2 separate regions of the Homo sapiens genome follow, and region 2 is linked to region 1. The links are contacts of gene promoters, found by promoter capture Hi-C in blood cells and fetal thymus (Javierre and others, 2016). All regions are on one chromosome and are shown on one strand. The core of a region is centred on a gene start or on the middle of the fragment in contact, and the rest is flanking DNA. Distances in the headings are between cores, read along the strand shown.

What was found. Contacts are between HindIII fragments. The CHiCAGO score rates a contact against its expected background, and 5 or more counts as called.
Region 2: a fragment that was not itself captured here is called in contact with the fragment with the promoter of RBM4B in region 1 in 4 of 17 cell types (naive CD4 T cells, total B cells, total CD8 T cells and 1 more); the score reaches 6.9 in naive CD4 T cells.

The regions. Positions count from the first base shown.
Region 1 is chr11:66,675,824-66,679,265 of GRCh38, reverse strand. It overlaps RBM4B (RNA binding motif protein 4B), which reads left to right and starts at 1,379. Exons shown (of 4, transcript NM_031492.4): 1 at 1,379-1,502; 2 at 2,175-2,598. The coding sequence starts at 2,187. RefSeq lists silencers at 1,177-1,456, 1,657-1,766. The HindIII fragment of the contact is 1,797 bases long and covers 569-2,365 here.
Region 2 is chr11:66,617,001-66,620,008 of GRCh38, reverse strand. It overlaps RBM14-RBM4 (RBM14-RBM4 readthrough), which reads right to left. Exons shown (of 2, transcript NM_001198846.2): 1 at 2,952-3,008. RBM14 (RNA binding motif protein 14) reads right to left here. Exons shown (of 3, transcript NM_006328.4): 1 at 2,952-3,008. Among named protein-coding and RNA genes, the nearest start is that of RBM14-RBM4, 1.9 kb to the right of the region's middle. RefSeq lists an enhancer at 2,496-3,008. The HindIII fragment of the contact is 1,383 bases long and covers 753-2,135 here.

The sequences.
Region 1 (3,442 bases), core at 130-2,629:
AAGGACAGTGCCTCTTCTGAAATGGCTGAGAAACAAAAAGAACTCAGGTAAAGAACATATCCAAGTAGCTGGGGTGGAAGAGGGCAGCCTGGGGAATGTGTCCCAGATGGTATCAGAGAAGCCATTATGGAGCCACTAAAATGAGGAATGGTGGCTGACAACCTCCCTGGCGGGCTCTACTAGGAGATAAACCCAATCCATCAATCTCCATAAAAGGCTACTCTTTGCTGGAAGGTGACAGTGGGGAATCAGCCTAAACTTCTTTTTTTTTTTTTTTTGAGACCGAGTCTTGCTCTGTCACCCAGGCTGGAGTGCAGTGACGCCATCTCGGCTCACTGCAACCTCCGCCTCCCGGGTTCCAACGATTCTCCTGCCTCAGCCTCCCGAGTAGTTGGGATTACAGGCGCCCGCCACCACGCCGGGCTATTTTTTGTATTTTTAGTAGACACGGGGTTTCACCATGTTGGCCAAGCTGGTGTCGAACTCCTGAACTCGTGATCCGCCCGCCTTGGCCTCCCAAAGTGCTGGGATTATAGGCGTGAGCCGCCGCACCTGGCACGCCTAAGCTTGTTTTTACCGCCAGGAGGTGCCCTTGGACCACAGCTGAATTTTGAATGCTAGACAGTCGGGAAACTCAGTTGCCTAGACTTCCAGCTTGGTGTGTACGAGGAGACCCTGTCCCACCCAGAACTAGGGACCTCGCTGGGCCTCTCCACCAAGTATTCCTCTGGCGTGCTCACCACAGACCAGGACTGTGATGGACACACAATGAGTGAGAGAGAATCAGACCACGGATACTCACGAGCAAACAAAACATGACTAAGCGTAGCCTGGGTAGCAATGCCTCTTAGGCCTGTCCCAGTTCTGCCAGGTTATCTTTCTGCCCCTTGGTTCTCAGTTTCCGTAGCAATAAATAACACCTCTGCAATGACAAACTTTAAAATAATGTTTAAAGCGCTACAAAACAATGACTAGTTTTGCTTAAAATGTGGCGCACCTGTATTTTTGAAATGTTGCCCCAAGCTGCCACAGAAGCCGGCCAGCCCGCTACAAAAGCCCCTTTTTAGGGCCCTCGGGGAGATTCCTCTGTCATTAGCTCCCCGCCCCCCTCAAAGGGCCCAAGAGCAGGACCCATTGTGGTGAGCGACTCCCCAAGGCCTCCGCTTTTCTAGGCAGTGGTTGCGTTCAGAGCCCCTCTGACGCAGCAGTGGCGACCCTTTCCAGGGTGGTGACTGGCTGGCTGGGGCTGGGGGTGGGCTGACCTCCGCGGCGCCGCGCCACCACCAACAGGCCCCGCCCCCGTGCTGCGTGGTCATTTGTATGCAGCCTCGGGATTGGTCACTCGGCTCCCGCGAGGGGAAGGGGAGGGAAGCAGCGCGCACTCGCGCGTGCGTGAGCTGGCGCGCGAGAAAGGGCCCGGTCGCGTCCAGGCTCGAGCGGCCGTCGCCATTTTGTAAGGTTCTCTCTGACGTGGGAGCCGCCGTCGCTGCCGCCACCCGGAGGTGCGAGGGGGTCGTGTGTGTGTGATGTGGGGAGCTCGGGGGCGGGTCGGGCCGGGCCTCCGGCAGACTGCACGGCCCGGATTTGGGTTTCTCATTTTGCAGCGGGAGGTCTGGGAAGACAACGGGAGGAGGCGGGGCCGGGTCTCCGGAAGGAGGCGGGGCAGGGGTCGGGTCGAGTCTTTGTTGGGGCGAAGAAGCTGGAGGGTGGGCCGCTGGGGGCGAGGTGGTTGGTCCCCGGTTTGGGGGAAAGGGGACTTTTTTCTTTTTAGAGTATCTTGAAAGGCGCTAGTGCGCGCAGGAGAGGTACACAGATTTCCCTCCAAAACCTTGTTACCAGGCGCACTGCGATTGATGCCCCTTGCCTTTGCTTGGGCTTTTCTCTTCCCTCATTTTAAGACATGAAGCAGCTAATTCTGGTATTTCATTGCGCTCCACTTCACGGAGATGATAGACTGGGCTATGCATGCTGACCCTCGACCTCCTGTTTGCATGTCACGCATAGCTCGCACTTCTCGAGAACAAACCGCCCTTCTTCTATTGAGGAAGAATAATGAATGTCTGTACGAGGGTCTTGAAGGTGCAAGAACTTTGGAGGATTAGACGAAAATGCTGCAGTGCACCGAAATTTCCCACCACACCCCTGACTTTTGAAGTCTTGTGTTTCTCTCCCAGGCTCTTGTCAGGATGGTGAAGCTGTTCATCGGAAACCTTCCCCGGGAGGCTACAGAGCAGGAGATTCGCTCACTCTTCGAGCAGTATGGGAAGGTGCTGGAATGTGACATCATTAAGAATTACGGCTTTGTGCACATAGAAGACAAGACGGCAGCTGAGGATGCCATACGCAACCTGCACCATTACAAGCTTCATGGGGTGAACATCAACGTGGAAGCCAGCAAGAATAAGAGCAAAGCTTCAACCAAGTTACACGTGGGTAACATCAGCCCCACTTGTACCAACCAAGAGCTTCGAGCCAAGTTTGAGGAGTATGGTCCGGTCATCGAATGTGACATCGTGAAAGATTATGCCTTCGTACACATGGAGCGGGCAGAGGATGCAGTGGAGGCCATCAGGGGCCTTGACAACACAGAGTTTCAAGGTGAACTGCTCTGGGCCTGGGTAGTAGCGCCGAGTGGGGTCTAGCTCAAAACAGGCAAGAACACAAGACTATAGAACTTGCTGGGTGGTCTCTTCCATTCTGTTTTAGCTGGAAATAATAGATTATGTTTACCGCTCTTAAGCATAATTTACCCCTGGGGAAGCAAACACTTCCCCTTTTCAGGTTTGCTAAGATGTTGCTCACCGACTGCATAGAATCACAAACTGTGGGTTACTTTACCCTGCGGGATTCTTGCATTGATTCGAGTGCTGTTGGAAGTGTAATCTGCTTGGGGAAACGAGTACCTCATGAGAGAAGGGAGGATAAAGGTCCGTGGCTTACCTGCTTCTTTGGTGATGATCAGGAAGCCTTATATTTGAGGGTTTAAGTGCTTAAGATTTATATTCTTTACTGCTTTGGGTGGATACTGGTGGGAAAGAAGAAAAAAGACATCTAGAGGAAGCCCTATATTATAAATCTGGGTGGCAAGTCTGGATCTGCGGGAGTATCTTTTTGTTGATCAAAGTTGTGCAGTCTCTTCAAGCAGAGTCAAAAAAACATGCCATGGAGTGTTCTGCTCCACCTGTTCATTTCACCCTCAGAAAAGGAAATTTCTAAATATATCAGACTCAATGGGAATGATGGTCCCGCTTCTGAAGAAATTTCAGTACAAGCATCGTAGAGCATATCATACTATTTATACCGATAATAAAGGTACATATGTTGTCATTAATACCACAAGAGGTTGTCAGAAGACTCTAGAACTGTGCTAATATGGTAACCACATGCGGCTTAGTAAATTGAAATTAACAGATTAGATAAAATTTAAAATTCAGTTTTTCAA
Region 2 (3,008 bases), core at 195-2,694, 59 kb after region 1:
AATCACTGCATTGGGACTATCAAGTAATGTTTTACAGAGATCTCCAAATGGTCTGGTGGCATCACAAGTCCTCCAGTAACAAAGTTAAGTGAATCCAGAAAAACAAGTTCTCCTATCTTAAGACTAAAAATCTTAAACTTGAGGGCTAGGCGCGGTGGCTTGCGCCTGTAATCCCAGCACTTTGGGAGGCTGAGGCAGGCGGATCACAAGGTCAGGAGATCGAGACCATCCTGGCTAACACAGTGAAACCCCGTCTCTACTAAAAATACAAAAAATTAGCTGGGTGTGGTGGCGGGCGCCTGTAGTCCCAGCTACTCGGGAGGCTGAGGCAGGAGAATGGCGTGAACCCAGGAGGCGGAGCTTGCAGTGAGCCGAGATGGCGCCAGTGCACTCCAGCCTGGGCGACAGAGCCAGACTCCGTCTAAAAAAAAAAAAAAAGAAAAAGAAAAAATCTTAAACTTGAAACTACAGAGCTCTGTATAGGAAGAAGAAACAGTCACTCACAAAAATGAAGAGAAGATATTTTCCTCTTTTGTCTTTCAGATCTCCCCACAAGTCTGTACATGTTTCCGGAAGCTGTTCATCTTTGAACACCCAATAGGAGGAAGCTGTGGAGTGGTTACAATCCACTGTTGCTATTGAGATTTCTGTTCTACAAATCCTATCTAAGCTCCTGGAGTAACCAAGCAACTATGTTGTTTTTTTTTCCTGTGAAATAAAACAGAGCTGGTTGTCTGGTGCAACACCAAGCTTCTGTGCTTTTCAAAGCCCTGTCAGCCAACACAAGGAGACTCAATCAAATGACCATTCCCAGCATAAGAAATGAGTACGCTCTTTAGAGAGCCAGTCGCTTCTACTACACTCCCAACTTTCAACCCTCACTTTCCGTCATCACAAACAGATAAAAAGACATCAGTGGAGGATATGATGTTCAAATCTTTCCCAGTCTCTTACATCGAAGTATGTCAGGAGCTCTGTTACACAACAATGTAACTGCAAATAGTTGACCACCACTCCCGGAGTAAGTCAATGCATTTTTGCTAATCAAATGTTTACAAAGGAACAAGATGCACAAAACTCCGTCTAACTCTCACAAGGAGTCAGCCAGGAGTTCTAAAAATTCATGTGCAGTTATGCACTTCACCCGCATCGTCACTTGGTGTTGGGTCCCAAGCAAATTTCAGGCAAATTTTTGACTTTCTCTACCACCTGAAAGCCAGCAAGAAGCCTGAGTTCCAGGGAGACTGTCCCTTCAGATGTTTGACTCTAGACTCTCAACCTAGTAGCCACTCTACCTAACAACCACAAAAGAAACTTGGTAAGTCAATTAAACACAAAACTCTCACAAATGAGACTCATATACCCCACCCTTTTGCTGGACAAGTACCCAATCTGAGACCCTCCCCCACCACTCTTTTACTCTAAACAAAAGCAAAAATCCATGCACCATACAGCCTGCCTCAGAGCACCCAGCAGGAAAGCCCGATTCCGGATAGTCGTGGACTTGTATAACCTGAGTTGAGGAAAATAGAATGCAGTATTAATGCAGAACAAGGACTTGTTCCTAGTAGTGGACACTATGACCCTTTATATTTCCCCCACTTAAAGGACTAGGAATGGCCCCAAACATGTGCCTTTCCAGGACAGCAAATGAAATATCTTGGTGGGATAAATAAGCACTTGCACCCACATTTATTTCCTATCCCTGAAACTTCTCACACAGGGTATGAGCAGGTATGAACCCACCAGGAGTAGGGCATCAGATACTCCCAGGCTGCATCTTCCAAAATGACAGGGCAAAGTTAACTCTGATCTGTTCCCAAGTGGAGCAGAGACTGGCCACATACACAACGGCTGTCCCACCAAATCTTGCCAATGTAAAAGATAAAGAGCTTAAGGGATAAAAACTCAAGCTATGAAAAAGTCAACTGGGTCCCTAGTCAGGCTTAAATTATGGTGACACATTTTTCTCGAAGAAAAGGCACCGGGATCTGCCCTGAGAATCAGACTACTCAAGCAATGACTACTACTGATTCAGTAAACCGTGTTTAGCCACTGTTTAATGAAGAGCTCTCACAGACCCCTCCCCAGGACCCCCTCAGCCAGAGTATGCCCCCCTGCAAAGTCACCAAGCTTATAAAAGAATGACACTGCCCTAGGGCACTGGCTTGGCATGTAAAGACTACGCAGAAGGGGACTTCATAAAACAAGCTTTCTTGCACATGCAAAAGGCTGGGGTTTCCAGTTGACAGATGTAAAATCGAGCCCAAAGAAAAACCCCAAGTTTGAGGGAGGAGAAAAGCACAGAGCTGCCACGCCTAACCTACCTAATATTGAAAGGCCAAAGTGATTCGGAAGGGGCCCCTCTCGTACCCACGTGTAACTGTGCCCATGAGTAGACCCATGCCAGACAAGACTAAAAGACCCCAGCCCGAGAAACGTCCAAGGGCCCCGTTACCTTCCGCTTGAGCACATTCATCGGGAGGGAACAGGAGGGCGGCCTTGGGGCGTCAGCCCCCACCTTTTCCCTCTTCCCTTGCTCTGACCGACGTCTGGAGAGGAAGTGGGGAAGTGGAGAAATCTTCCCCGCTTCATGATCCGGCTTGTGCCCGTCACTTCCCAATTTCCGCTGGGTGCCAGGCCCAGGAGACCAGGAGAAGGCGCGCCCCCGGAACACTCGCAAGGCTCTCAGGCGCGTCCCCGGCCCCGTAGCTTGGCTCGCAGTGGCCGCCGCACCCACCCAGAGCCGCTTCCTCCTACTTGGTGGACGGTTCCTGGACCGCAGGGGAGGAGGGTGGCTCTACCCAACGCGCCCCCAACACCTCCGACCTGCTCCCGCGCACTTCCCCACCCCTCCCAACCGCGCAGTGACCGACCCCCGGGTAAGGGGCGTGGCTAACAGGCAGAGTGCCCCGAGCGCGCCCCCGCCCCCGAGCGCGCCTCCGCGTTACCTTTCACCACGTCACACTCGATGACGCGTCCGCGGCGCTCGAAGAGGCTGCGCAGTT